Linked DNA regions of Homo sapiens: region 2 is linked to region 1. The links are contacts of gene promoters, found by promoter capture Hi-C in human tissues and cell types (Jung and others, 2019). All regions are on one chromosome and are shown on one strand. Each heading gives the region's core, a stretch centred on a gene start or on the middle of the fragment in contact. The rest is flanking DNA. Distances are from core to core; before and after follow the strand shown. Region 1 holds the start of NPPC (natriuretic peptide C). Region 2 overlaps DIS3L2 (DIS3 like 3'-5' exoribonuclease 2).

Evidence for each region. Contacts are between HindIII fragments. The study calls those that stand out against the background at their distance.
Region 2: a contact is called between a fragment that was not itself captured here and the fragment with the promoter of NPPC in region 1, in 2 of the 25 tissues and cell types used here (H1 embryonic stem cells and dorsolateral prefrontal cortex).

The regions. Positions count from the first base shown.
Region 1 is chr2:231,920,186-231,927,645 of GRCh38, forward strand. NPPC (natriuretic peptide C) reads right to left here and starts at 6,211. Exons shown (of 3, transcript NM_024409.4): 1 at 5,975-6,211; 2 at 5,220-5,530; 3 at 1,624-2,130. The coding sequence starts at 6,064. The coding sequence ends at 5,240. RefSeq lists silencers at 5,105-5,194, 5,275-5,324, 6,280-6,499 and an enhancer at 6,901-7,460. The HindIII fragment of the contact is 16,124 bases long and covers 1-7,460 here.
Region 2 is chr2:232,063,435-232,070,894 of GRCh38, forward strand. All of the region lies in intron 5 of DIS3L2 (DIS3 like 3'-5' exoribonuclease 2), which reads left to right. Among named protein-coding and RNA genes, the nearest start is that of DIS3L2, 110 kb to the left of the region's middle. The HindIII fragment of the contact is 3,171 bases long and covers 2,027-5,197 here.

The DNA.
Region 1 (7,460 bases), core at 4,961-7,460:
AGCAATCCTCCTACCTCAGCCTTCCCCCGAGTAGCTGGGACTAGAGGTGGCCACCACCATGCCCAGCTATTTTTTTATTTTTTGTAAAGATGGGGGTCTTGCTAAATTGCCCTGGCTGGTCTCGAACTCCTGGGCTCAAGTGATCTGTCCGCCTCGGCTTCCCAAACTGTTGGGATTACAGGTGTGGCCACTGTGCCCAGCCAGGAACATGTCTAAAAGGGGATTTCTCACCTGGGCAATGTCACTGTGTTGGCTACTCACACACTTGAGAGGTTGCTGCTGGAGGGCTACCTGGAACAAAGGTCCCAGGGCTCAAACACCCACAGAAAGACCAGGTGACACTGGCTACCTCCCCAGTGACACTTCCTCTGGAACTCCTCTCGGTGCCTGCGGACCCATGAGCACAGGGCAACACTGCTCCCAATTCCCCTGAGCAGGGTGCCCCCAATCCACTGATGTTACTGGCCCAAGAGGGTATGTTCCCACCTTCCCCTAACAGGGGACAGATGACAGGGAAGGCTGCACAGGGCTGTCATCCAACCAAGCATGTAGTGAGAGTACCTCGGAATTATTTCAAAGTTTCCTGCTGGTTTTAGGAGAAGAGATTCTAATCTAAATTATATTCATAAATTCTAAATTATATTCATAATTCCACACTCATAGCTCCATGGGGCATAGGAAATGTAATTGTTAGTGGCTTCAAGTGAAAAGAAAACCCACAACCCTCCCACAAAGCGCAGCACACTACAGATATGAAATTTGATAACGCCTTTTCCTTCTCTCCAAGGTCTCGGCTCCCAGCTGACCATGGCATTCATTATGAGGCACAAACTACCCATCCTAGGCTTTGTGAGCGAGTCTAGAAAACAGAGTTGCTGAGATTCGTAAGGTGACCTGGCCAATTCTGCAAGATATGCAGAAGCCTTCTAAATCTCCCCCAAACAGAGAGGGAGTTAGCAGCTATTTCTTCCACTAACAGCAGAAGATGGAGTAGAATTTACAGGACCCTAAGTCAGCTGAATTCAAAATTAATTTTTTTTTTGAGATGGAGTCTTGCTCTGTTGCCCAGGATTGGGGTGCCGTCTGTGATCTCGGCTCACTGCAACCTCTGCCTCCTGGGTTCAAGCAATTCTCCTGCCTCAGCCTCCCGAGTAGCTGGGATTACAGGCACCTGCCACCACGCCCGGCAATTTTGGTAATTTTAGTAGAGATGGGGTTTCACCATATTGGCCAGGCTGGTCTTGAACTCCTGACCTCAGATGACCCACCCACCTTGGCCTCCCAAAGTGCTGGGATTACAGGCACCTGCCACCACGCCCGGCCGTCATTAATTTAATTCATAACATCTGACTTCCTAGCGGTCAGGTGTTTGAGCAGAGCTTCCTGACCTGGCTGAGCTGGTCAGAATCACTTGGGACGAAACTTACACAGCCAGTCCTATCAGATTCGGAGAAGGCAGGAATCTGTATTTTTAGCAAGGTCTCCAGGGGATTCTGACACAGATAAATCCAGAATTGGGAATCTGCCTGTCAGACCTATTTGGAGGCAATGCCTTTTCTTCACATTCTCCCTCTTTCTCAGCCTAAGTCCTAAAAAATACAGGCAACAAGTAAATAAAGACAGTTTTCAAGATATTCATGGAATGACTTTTTTTTTTTTACATTTTTTTTAACTAGTTAGGACAAAAACATTACAATGATTGACTTCTTTCATTTAGTTACATAAATAAAATTTTTATAAATATCTCTTTATAAACAATATAAATAGCTTTACAACATAAATACATTTATGCATGACATGAATTTACAAACAGCAATGTTTTACAGCTGGTTCTGTCAGTCTCTTAAAAACTGTCCCTTGTCATCAAGTCGGTGTAGGTGTGTGTGTTTCATGTATATAATATATATATAATATATAACTTTTTATTTTTCATTTTAAAAAAACAAATAATAAAATCACAACCCCCTCCCCAAATAATAATAAAACAGCTGGTGTTGTGTATTCCCAGTACCAGGAAAAAAAAAGAAAGAAAGAAAGAAATGTAAAAGCCACATTGCGTTGGAGGTGTTTCCAGATGCTGGAGGCTGATGACCAAAGATGACCTCAGCACAACGGAGCCAGTTCCCGATCCTGAAACACAGAGTGAACACGGGACGCTCAGTTCTGGCCCCTTAGCTGAGAAATCCTAGCAGGCAGGGTGGTTCTAGAACCTTTCCTCCCCTTCTCCCAGCAGCTTGAGGGATGTTCCCCTACCTCCGCCACCCCCCCAACCAGGCCTTCCTGCAGAGGGGAGGAGCCCCCCATTGCGCACTCCCCAGGCCCCTTCTGCTTTGCTGCCCCAGTACAAGTGGAACCAGCGTGTCTGCAACACTCCTTCTTCCCCCAGTCTAACCACAGGCCTTGCCCTTGGCACTCAGGGAAGCGCAGTGAGAGAAAGAGAATGGAAAATCTCCCATCCCTTTTTTGCTACAACGCAAACCCTCAGTCAGTGCTCGCCCGGGGTTCGTGTGTCTGAGTGACCATGGATGGAAGGAGAAGAGAGACATCTCAGGATCAGGAATCCTGGGCTCAAATCTCTACTCTGACGTTGGGTCCCTGGATGACCCTGGATAGCTGGGAGTGTTCACCCATAAAATTGGATAATAGCCACCTCCTAGGGCTGGCTTTCAGATTCAACAGGGAGCCTCGGATCGGGCATCGGCAGTGTCTGGGTCACAGCTGCCACCCAGTAAACAGCACCTCCTTCCCTAGCTGGTTGTGCAGAGGAAAGGGTCTGGGTCCAGGTCCCCTTCAGGAGCAGAGGAAATGGTGTCTCACACCAGCCTTGGGGAAATGCACAGTCATGGGCTCTGAGTGTTGTTAGGGTAAACTCTCTGCTAATGGGTGTGTGGGTGCCCCGGGGCCCAAGGAAGGTGGCCTTCAGGGGCGTTCAGTGCCCTCCCAAAGGACAGCATGCACAGAGGGGACCTGGGCCAGAATGGCTTGATGAACCCTCCCCCACTCCCTTCTCTGGCTCTGCCGTGAGTTTACACAGATGACAGCTGTCTGTGATGTTGCTGGGCCCCAGGGGCAAAGTGTTCATTCAGGTTTCACCTACACCCAGTCTCTGTCATTAGCATTTTACAATGAATACCTAGAACCATCAACCACCATCATTACGGTGGCTTAGAGCCCAGGTCACCCACTGCGTGGAGAAACAGCCACAACCTCAAAGAGTTTTCATTAATGTGAAAAATCTAAGCTGTCTTTCTCTTTACGCCCAGTGATATATCCTGGGCATCGTCACCAGGAGCCTGCAGGAATGATGTTCTGCTCTCTCACTGGGAATGGGGGGCAGTGAGGGTGGGGTTTTTATTTTTCATTTAAAAAATCCCAAATAATAAATCCACACCGCCCTTCCCAAATAATAATAAAACAGCTGGTGTTGGGCGTAAGCCGGTGTTGAAGGTGTCGACGGTAAGTGTTCATCTATGCTAAGAGAGCTGGTAGGAGATTATTGAACCCCCCTGATCAAAGGGGTCGAGAATTCTTAACAATGTGGATTCCTCCTACACAGCATCTTTCACCACCCGTTTGGCCATCACTTGGTGACCACAGACATCCAGGCCCAAGAACAAAGCCCCTGTGGGGATGCGCATTCCAGGTACGAACCAATGGAGAGTCACTAACATTTGCTCAGGTTCTAAAGTTTGAACTTGATGCTTAAATCAAACTGAAAATTTGAGGCCTCAGACTCCGTCTCTTTGTTGTTTAGACAGGAGAGAAGAGAGCAAAGGCATTCCAAGGGTAGCTACTGAAGGCTGGTCCCCAAGTGTCAGAATCATTCTTCTCCCTGTGCAGGGGAGAGTCAAGATCACAGACAACTACAGCCTTTGCAGAACTGGGGAGAGGCCCACAGCCGAGTGAGGTCTGGCTGCAAAGAGAGGAAGGGCACTGGTTAAAACCTCGGGCAGGTGGGAGTGGCCATGGGCCAGGGTGTGCTGGTTTCTCTGGTCATTGACAAATATTTCCACGAGTCTGTTCGGGGTGCAGTGGGTCCTAGAGTGCCTTAGGCCAGCACTTCGCCCTTAAGCTGTTCAATATGGAGAGGTGAATGGGTTCACAAACTGTGAAAAAGTGTTCTGTACTGTAAAAAAGAGACAGTGTGCTGGACAGGCGCTCTTGTTTCCCTCCGGGAGAAGATCCGACACTGACAAGGGTTTCTGGGGAGGAGACAGCAGCTTGCCCGTAGCCTGGGATGGGACAGTCAAGGTGTGGGACAGGCAGTGGCAGCTGCTGAGCTGGAGGCAAGAAAGCGAGAAAGCCAGGTAAGCCTGATCCTAACGCACATGACTGTCAATGTCAGAGGCTGGGATGTTATTCAGTGGGCACGGGCAGGCGGCAGGAATAGAGAGGAGGGAAAGAGGAGAGGTGAGGCTCTCTGCAGCAGTAAATTACCACCACGCGGCACCCGGCAGGGGGTGGCGGTAGGGCAGAGGTTTCCAGCCCTAGTGCGGGGTGAGACCCCACACCAGAAACGGAGCCCAGAGCACCGGTTGGGTCGGGACAGGGTTGGTGAGGGACTCTGGGACGTGTTGAGTTCGAGGCTGGGGCAAATAATATTTACTTTAGTGTCTTTCCTATTCCCTGAAATAGTGCCACAAGCACTGAGATTCACCCCCGAAGCCACCAGGCTGCAGCTGCCTCAGGACCCTGGACAGACCAGTTTGCCCACTGCCTGGGTTTAGAGAAGGGACAGGAATCGGAGTGTCCCAGGCAGAAGGGCGCTCTGACAGTGCCAGCAGAGGGCTACTCTCACTACAGGGGGCATGGTGGCCAGCAGATGATCGATGTCCCCTGGACTTGTGGGTGTAACCTTCCTTCTCTGCTCCCACAAACCCATGATCTCCTCTCAATCCCCCCACCAGCTGGCCAATAGGGGCCAGTGCTGCTAGTTCAGCTACGGTTCAGGGGTGGGTGAGACACCACCAAGCCTGTTTCTGCTTCTCCAGAAGAAGCCAGGTGGGTTCAACCAGGCTGAGCCGTTTCTGACCTTGCCAAAGTTCCCCGATCACGTTATCCTTCGCTTTCTTTGTCTGTAAAGTGGGATAATAAAGGGGGCGGCTGGCAAACGCCTAGCACAACTTGAGCAAAGGCGGCTCGCGCGCCTCCGAAGGCCGGCTGGGCGGCGGGCGGTCCCGGGCCGGGCTGGGGCTGGGCGTCGGGTGGGCCGTACTCACCGCCGCCAGGGGGCGCCGCACTAACATCCCAGGCCGCTCATGGAGCCGATTCGGTCCAGCTTGAGGCCGAAGCAGCCCTTGGACAAGCCCTTCTTGTTGGCTCCTTTGTATTTGCGCGCGTTGGGGTGCTCTTGCAGAAGGCGAGCCCACGCTGCCCGCGACTTGGTGTCCACGCGCAGGTCCCGGAGCAGTCGCGACCGGTCGCCCTTGAGATTGGCGCCCCCGCCCCCGGGAGCCTTGTCGCCCTTCTTCTGACCGCCGCCCGCAGCCTGCGGCTCGGCCAGCTCCTCTGCCGGCGGGGTTCGCGGGACCTGTCCGAGGAAAGAGCGGGCAGGTGAAGGGACACGCGGCTGCAGCACGGGGGACTCTGATGCTCCAGCCCCACGCGCCCGCCGGCGCGGGGTGTCCCTCCCAAGCCCAGAGCCGCCCCCACCGATGCCGGCCAGCTTGGCCCCGCATCCACCTGCCACGCGGCCGCCTTCGCCGCTCCCTCCGGAAGCCCCCTGCCCTCCCTTTGCTGCTCGCCGGGCAGGCCACACTGGGGTAGGGGGCTGCGCATGGGCCGATGTTCTCCGGAGGCTGGAGAAGTGGACCCCCGAATCCGCGCTTCGAGGGCTCCCCGGCTCTCGCCCACGCGCATCTCGGAGGAGACAGCCGCCTGCCTTCCCTCTCTCCTGGGTCCTGCGCGCCGCATTCTCCAAGCCCCCAGCCTCCCACGCCTCTCCCAGGCTCGGCGTCCCCACGACAGCACCCACCTTCGGCGGCGCCCCGGGCTTGGCTTCGGAGGGCCGGAGGGAGAGCAGCGTGAGCAGCAGGGCGCAGGCCAGCAGCTGGGAGAGATGCATGGTGCCGCTGGGGTCGAGGGGCGCACACGGGCGGCAGCGAGGGCGCGCAGGTCGGCGGGCAGACCAGCAGGGGGATGCGGAGCAGGCTGGCTGGGCTGCAGGGCGAGCAGGGTCCCAGTGCTGCGCGGCGCCGGCTGGGTGCGCTCTGAGCCCGTGACTCTGCTCGCGCCTTTATAATCCAACCTGCCGCTGATGTCATCCTCCCGCCCACCGGGCCGCCCGGGCCAATGACACCACGCACGCGGCCGCGCCGAGGGCCGGGAGGGGGCCGCGGGGGCTCCCCTCCCTTATCCCACCCCGGAGGGATCCCGCGGCTCGGCGGGCTCGCTCCAGGCTGCACTTGGAGCTGCAGAGCTGAGCGCACAGGGGAACTCCATTTGCAGCGAGCGCGCGCCCTGGCCTGCCGAGCATCGGTGCGCCTGGTGCCCTGTGCACCCACTAGGTCCTCATCGCACTCACTCTACCTGGAAGGGATACGTAGCCCTCTTTGCAGGTGCAAAGACAGGCTCAGAGGAATGAAGTCACTTGCCCAAAGTCATACAGGCATAAAGTTGGCGCTGCCCGAAATCCACGCAGCCCTGCTTGTCGCCAAACTCTTCCCTGGGCACCTGACAGCCGCGGGATGGCATTGCAGCTCCGCCTTTCACCTGCCGGTCAGGGCGGGAGCGCAGACCACAGCGACGTCGTTAGGTTGGGGAGGCAGAGGATGGGGTTGGAGGACTGGGGTGGGAGGCGCAGGGAGAGCGGGGTTCGCCTGGGCCGCAGGGGGGAGCGCAAGTCTTCCACACTGGAGAGTGCAGGGGTGTCGCCAGCCTGAGTGTTTGAGCGCAAGGCGGGAACGAGGGGACTGCGAGCGCGGAACCAAGATATTCATGCTCATGCGTGTGCTCCGCGGCATCGTATGCTCGCCAGTTACTGCTCTAGGTTCACGTTCAGCCGGTTTCGGCCACACAGAACGTCCCGGGGTCTGACTCCGCTGGTGAACTCCCTCTGTGGGAACAATGCGCACCTGACCTTGCCTGCACCCACGCGAGGATCCGCTGCTGGGGGAAGCCCGCTCCAGTATCCTGTGCACTTTCACAGGCTGGGGAGAGAGCTTCCTAGCCAGCGGCCCAGTCCAGCCTCTGCCAGCCGTGACAGGTGGTCAACTTCCCGTTTTTGACTGTAGAGAGGTCCCCGTGGCTCTCGGGACATGGCCACATATCCCTACCACTCACGAACTTGCTCTCCTTGCACTGGGCTTCTCGGTCCCTTGGACACTAAGGAGTGTGGTGGGCATTTGGGCACTGCGGTGTGGGCCGCAGAGGCGGAGAGCCCAGATCCCCCGAATTGATTGAAGAGCAGGAATCTATGACTGGCTGCTGCTGAGCAGGACGCAGGCTGGAGAGAGAACAAA
Region 2 (7,460 bases), core at 2,362-4,861, 140 kb after region 1:
AGGCCCTCCTTGGCAAGGATGAGCTCATTCTTCCTTAGTGGATTTTTTGTTTTTTTTGTGCCTCTTCAGAAGCTTCCAGCTGCAGTGACACCTGTCTACTTTCTGTTCTGCAAACATGCCTACTTCTTGAACTTTTTAAACTATGACATCTTTTTTCATCACTATCCATTCTCATGACCTATGCTGCATTCTGCCATGTTAATTAAGTCTTTCCTTCGTCATCTCACAGGAAGCAAGACACTGCCTTCATTTCCTAAAGCTTATACCATTTGATTGATGATTGCTTCTGCTTGAAGATAGTTAGGGATGTGCTTTGTGGGTGTACTTATTTCTAGGTGTTGATAGGCCAATACTAGCGATGTGGTTTTCGAAAATGCCTTATTAACTGAAGCGTCACCTCACTGTAAGTGGGAGTAATTTGATGCCTAATAGATGCTCTGCACATTACAAAATTTTGATAAATATTTCTTGGATTTTAAGTTTTATCAGAATAAAAAATATTTGATACCTTTAGATCATAACCTTGGCTTGTAGTTTGGGTGTTTTTATGGAGTTTTGCACTTTTCCTGTGTATAGATGCTGAGTTTGCTTGGCTTTGGTATAAAAAAAAATTTATTTGGTTCATATAGTCTTTTTGCTCAGGTTTATTGAAGTATAATTTACATATAGTAAAAAATCACTCCCTTTAAGTGTCCGGTTCTATGAATTAAAATCTTGTGTAACCATCACCATAATGAAGATAGAAAAGCATTCTTTACTCCCGAAAATTCCTTTGTATCCCTTTTAAGTCAACATTTCCCCTCATCCCACAGCCCCTGCCAACCACTGATCTGTTTTGCATCCCTGTGGATTTACCTTTTCCAGAATGTCATATAAATGGAATAATTTTGAGTCTGGCTTTTTTCTATTAGCGTGCGCATGTGAAATTTATCCATGTTGTTCACTGTTGCCGACTAGTATTCCATTGTATAGATGTTTCAGAGTTTGTTTACCTCTTCACCAGTTGAAGGACATTTTGGTTGTTTTCAGTTTTTGATGATTAAGAACAATGCCCCTGTGAACACTGCTGTACACATCATCGTAAGAACATATGCTTTTATTTCTCTTGGTTAAGTAGGTACCTGGATGTGGAATTGCTGGATCATATGGTAAGCATATGTTTATCTTTATACGAAATTATGAAGTGGTTTTCCAAAGTAGCTGTACCATTTCTCACTCCCATGAAAAATATATGAGAGATTCAGTTTCTTTACATCCTCACCACCACATATTATAATTATAGCCATTCTGGTGGATGTATAGTGTTATCTCCTTTGTTATTGTTTGTTATATTTTGCTTTGAATTTCCCTGATGACAAAATGATGCTGAGTATTTTTTGTATTTACACCCATTAATATATATGTTATTCTCTGATGTGTCTGTGTAAGTCTTTTATACATTTTTGGCTTTCATTTTAATGAATTGTAAGAGTTCTTTATATAATGTGGACAAAAGTCCTTTGCTACACAAATTTCTGAAGGGTACCTTTTGCAGAGCAGAAGTTTTAAATTATGGTGAAATCCAATTTATCAAAATTTTTAATGAGTTATGCCTTTGGTTTCCTATCTAATATATCTCTGTCTATCCCAAAGTTGCAAAGATTTCTCCTTTTCTTCTTTCTTCTTAAAATTGTGGTAAGAACACTTAACTTGATCTACCCTCTTACCAAAGTTTTAAGTGCATGGTATTTTTAAGTATGCATGATGCTGTGCAGCAGATCTCTAGAACTTAATTCATTTTATACAACTGGAACTTTATATTCATTGACCAGCAGCTCCCATTTCTTTTTCCCCCCAGCTCCTGGCAACCACCATTCTACTCTGTTTCTGCAAGTCTCTTTTTTTTCCTTATAAAAGGTTTATAGTAGTTTGAATTTTCACTTTTTGGTCTATTGTCCATTTCAAGTTAATTTTTATATATAGTGTGAAGTGAGGGCTGAATTTCATCTTTCTCCTGTGGATATCTACTTATTTTAGCACATTTGTTTAAAAGACTCCTTTCCCTATTGAATTACCATGACATCTTTATTGAAAATCAATTTACTATATAAATGTGATTCTATTTCTAGGCTCTATATTCTGTTCCATTAATCTATTTATCTATCCTTCCTTAATTACTGTAGCTTTGTAGTAAGCCTTAATATTTAGTGGTATTTGTTTTTCAAAATTCTTTTGACTCTTTGGGCTCCTGTGTATATTGATGGGAAATTTAGAATTGACTTTATCTACTTCTATGCATAAAGCCTATTTGGATTGCATTGAGTCTGTAGATCAATTTGGGGTCCAAATGGCATAGATTGGAGTTGTCTAATCCATGAACAGATATTTATCTCCATTTATTTAGGTCTTCTTTAATTTCTTTTGACAGGATTTTGTAGTTTTCAGTGTATAAGTTTTGCATATATTTTGTTAGATTTCTTACTAAATCATTCATGTTTTTGATACTATGATAATTGAAATTATCCCCTTAATTTTATTTTCCAGTTGTTCATATCTAGTATATAGAAATTGACTTTTGTATATGTATATGTATATATTTTTTATAATGTCCTGCAACCTAGTTATTAGTTTTAGTACATCTTTAAAGATTCTGTAGGATTTTCTGCATATATATTGTCTGTGAATAAAGGCTGTTTTATGTTTTCTGTTCTAATCTATATGCCTTTTAGTTTTTTCATGCTTTACAAGAAACCTTCACTATGATGTTGAACACAAGTAGTGAGATATTCTTGCCTTGTTCTTGATCTTATGAGGAAAGCCCTCTATCTTTCTCATTAATTATGTTAGTTTTAGGTTTTTCATAGATGCCCTTTATCAAGCTGAGGAAATATCCTTATAGTCTTAGTGGAATTTTCATCATGAATAGAAGTTGAATTATGTCAAATGTGTGTATTGAGATGACTATACAGATTCTTTTCTTTTTCCTGTTAACATGTTGAATTACAGGGATTGATTTTAAAATGTTAAATTAGGTTTTTATTCATTGGTTTGGTTTGCTAATAATTTGTTGACAGATCTAACATGTGTCCTCATCAGGATTATTAACTTGTGACTTACTGGTATTATTATGTCTTTGGTTTTGGTATCAGGGTAATAATACTGGTCTCATAAAGTGAGTTGGGAAATGTTTCCTCTTCCCCTATATTTTGAGAGAGTATGATAGGGTTGGTATTTCCTTTTTAAGTATTTGATAAAATTTACTAGTGAAGGCATATGGGCTTAGAGTATTCTTTTCTAGTGGGTTTTTAATTACAGTTTAAATTTCTTTATTGATATAGAGTGTGATGGTTTTAAACATGACCCAACATTTTTTTTGACATTCCTATTATTGATAACAGATACTAAAGGCTTTTAAATTTTTCTGTTTCTTCTTGTATCTGTCTTGGTAATTTGTTTCATTTAGGGGACTTATTCATTTCATCTAATTTGTAGACTGTATCGGCATAAAGCTGTTCATAATATTCTTTTACTGTCCTTTTAATGTCTGTAAGATTTTTAATGATTGCCCCTCTTTAATTTCTGAAATATTATTGGTAATCATGTGCCTTATTTTTCTTTTTTCTTTATCATTCTAGTGGAAGATTTTATCAATCTTTTCATGTAATAACTTTTGGTTGCATTCATTTTCTCTAGTTTTTGGTCTGATTTTCTATTTCATTGATTTTCTCTCTTAAATTTACTGTATCTTTCCTTCCACTTATTTTGGGTTAAATTAGCTTCTTATACTTCCCACCTCCAGACTTTTGAAGGTGAAGCTTGGCTAATTGATTTAGTCCCTTTTTCCCATTAGAAGCACTTAGAGCTATATCATTTTCTCTAGACGCTACTTTACATGCATTGCACACATGTTAGCGTGTTGTATTTTTATTATTCAGTTCAAAATAAGTTAAAGTTTTCTTTGTATTTTTTTCTTTGACCCATTCTTTATTTTCAGGTGTATAGGTGAATATTCAAATACTTAGGAACTTTTCTAGAATATCATACTACTATTCATTTCTAATTTAATTGTGTTATAGTCAGAGGGCATACTCTGCAAGATATCAAGCTCTTGAAACCTACAGAAATTCATGTGGCTCAGCATATGGTCTATTGTGGTAAACATTCTCTGTGCACTTGAACTTATATCTGCAGTTGTTCAGTGTTATGCTCTGTAAAGGCCACTTAGGTTACAGCTGCTTGCATTGTTCAGGGCTTCTGTTTCCTTACTGGTTTTTGTCTTACTTTATTTAATTGTGAAAATATCTATGATTGGGGATTTGTTTATGTCTCCTTTTACTTTTGTCAGTTTTTGCTTTATGTGGTTTAAAGCTTTTTTATTAGGTGCATATACATTTGTAATCATTATATTTTACTAATACAGTGCCGCTTATCAACATAAAGTGTTCCTCTTTTTCCCTGGTAATGCCTTTTTTCTTGAATCACTGTGTCTAATATTAATATGGGAATGTTTTCAAAGATGGGAGGTAATAGAGAACATTTGTGTGCTGATATGAGAAAGATTTACCATAGAGAGGGAGAGGCAATGAGATGGGGAGAGAAGGATTATCCAAGGAGCAAAACCCTCAGAGCAAGAAGTAGTATTCAGAGCATGTGCTGGGATTGGTCTTTTGCAAAAGAAGTGAATCACTTCATCTGTATTTGCACTGCAGAAGAAGGCAAGGATGATTATAGACATAAGTAGATTTTTAGAGTTGGCTATACGTGAAATCTATATATTTTAGATTTTTAAAATCTAGCAATATGTACTTTACAGTATGCCAGAAACCACTGATCAAAGAAATGTGGTTTCAGTTTTTGTCATCAATATATGAGGGTGGGCCAAGTGCAGTGGCTCACAACTGTAAGCCCAGCACTTTGGGAGGCCAAGGCAGGAGGATCGCTTGAGCCCAGGAGTCCAAGACCAGCCTAGGCAGCAAAGTGAGACCCTATTGCTACTAAAAAAAAAAAAAAAAAATACAAAAGTTAGCTGGGCGTGATGGCATGCAATAGTCCCAGCTACTTGGGAAGCTGAGGCGGGAGGATCACTTGTACCTGGGAGGTTGGGGGTACAATGAGCCATGATTGTGTCACTGCACTCCAGCCTGGGTGACAGGGTGAGACCCTGCCTCAAAAAAAAAAAGTTATATGTATATATATTTATATGAGGGTGGTAATTAAAGTGTTGGCTGATCTTTCAGATAATTGTGGTTAATTTCTTAATACTAAATTGATCCTTTGGAATATCCTCAGGCTCCGGAATTATGGCTGTTATATCACTGTCCTGAATCTCCCTTGTCCTGAAATTTTTTTTATTATATACTGTTTGATTTTCTGAAATGGTCTGCAAATTGAGCTTATTTTTAATTTTAATTTTAATTTTTTTCTTGAGACAGTCTCACTCTGTCAGTCAGGCTGGAGTGCAGTGGCGATCTCGGCTCACTGCAACCTTTGCCTCCCGGGTTCAGGTGATTCTCATGCCTCAGCCACTCGAGTACCTGGGATTACAGGCATGTACCACCATGCCTGACTAATTTTTATATTTGTATTAGAGACAGGGTTTCACCATATTGGCCAGGCTAGTCTCAATCTCCTGGCCTCAAGTGATCTGCCCGCCTCAGCCTCCCAAAGTGCTGGGATTACATGCGTGAGCCACCGAGTCTGGCCTGAGCTTATTTTTTAGTGAGGTCCAGGATATTTAAGTGTGTTTCTAAGATGAAATCTGAGGTAAGGGACTGCAGCTAAGTCTCTCCACACATAAAATCTTTAAATATAGATGATCTTTATTTGACAAGTTGTTTAACCTTTACAGGTTATTTTCTTTCCTGAATGATGTTATATCTCTGCTTTGATTCTCTATCAAAAATTGTTGTGATTCTAAAAGGGGAATAATCTTTCATTCTGGCAAGCAGTTGGAAATTATACCCATAGAAGTAGGCTTCTGTGTATTGTTTTATCAGTGTAGTGTTCTATGAATAAAAATACAGAGACTTGTCTTTTAAAATGATCCTACTTGAGCATTTCTAAGGAAGCTTCAACTTTATTCTTTACTAGTGTTGAAAAATTGGCCATATTCCTCAGATACAGGGATAATCAGTGTAGTTCACTTCCTTGCTGTGGTGATAGATGGAGGAATGGGCATGTGACCCAAATCAACCCCAGCAGACCCAGCCTTGGGACTTATTTGCAGAGTCTCTCATTAAGAGCTTATCGGGTTTTGTTTTTGTTTTAATTTTTTACTGGGATCTCTAAGAGGATGGAATGTAATTCTGGAGCTACTGGTATCCTTGCATCCTTCATCCTTCTCTATGAGGAGAGAAGCTGTCCTGATAATGGAGCAATATTGAGGAAGGCTGAGTTGAGACACATACACACATACACACAGGCACATACACACATCTGTGCACACACTGTCCCACAGATATCATCTGAGCCTCTCAATTTGATCAGTTTGTCTCAATTACATAAGCTAATAAGTTACTTTAAAAATGACAGCCAGTTCAAGTTGGTTTTTCTGTCTCTAGTAGCTAATAGAGGCAGTACTAATACATTGACTATGTTTTAGAGACTTAAGTCAAAATACAGTAAAGAGTATGAGTCAAAGAAAAGCAACCACCCATGTACAAGGTATATCTATATACATGTATATATGTTCATCCACTAAATTTCAATAATTATTCCTCCTGTGAACTCTGTTCAAGTAGAAATCCAGTCCTTCTATCTCTGTTAGAAATTCTTTCGTAGGGGCGGAGGTTGCAGTGAGCCAAGATCGTGCCACTGCACGCCAGCCTGGGCAACAGAGGTGAGATTCCGTCTCAAAGAAAAGAAAAGAAAAAGAAAAATTCTTTCCTAGGGCTTGCTTTTCTAGTTTACCCAGATTTACTTCCTGCCTTTTTGTTTGTTTGTTTTTTTCCTGTTTCTGAGCTTTAGAACTTGGTGTGATATTCTGTCAAATTGCCTAATGCTCTCTGTTTATTTCTGGCATCAAAAATATTTATCACCTTGCTACTGAGAGAACTCTAGTTGGATCCTGCTGTGTTCTATGAACTGGGTCTCCTCTGGGAAGTATGCCTGCTTCTCACTCTTCGTTAGTGATTCAGTAAGGAGGCTTGCTTGTACCGGAGTTAGGTTATGGTTCTTTTTTTTTTTTTTTGAGATGGAGTCTCACTCTGTCGCCCAGGCTGGAGTGCAGTGGCGCCATCTCCAGTCACTGCAACCTTCACCTCCCGGGTTCAAGTGATTCTCCTGTCTCAGCCTCCCTAGTAGCTGGGACTACAGGCGCGTACCACCACACCCAGCTAACGTTTGTATTTTTAGTAGAGACAGGGTTTCACCATGTTGGCCAGGATGGTCTCGATCTCTTGACCTTGTGATCTGCCCCCCTCGGCCTCCCAAAGTGTGGAATTACAGGCGTGAGCCACTGCGCCCAGCCAGGTTATGGTTCT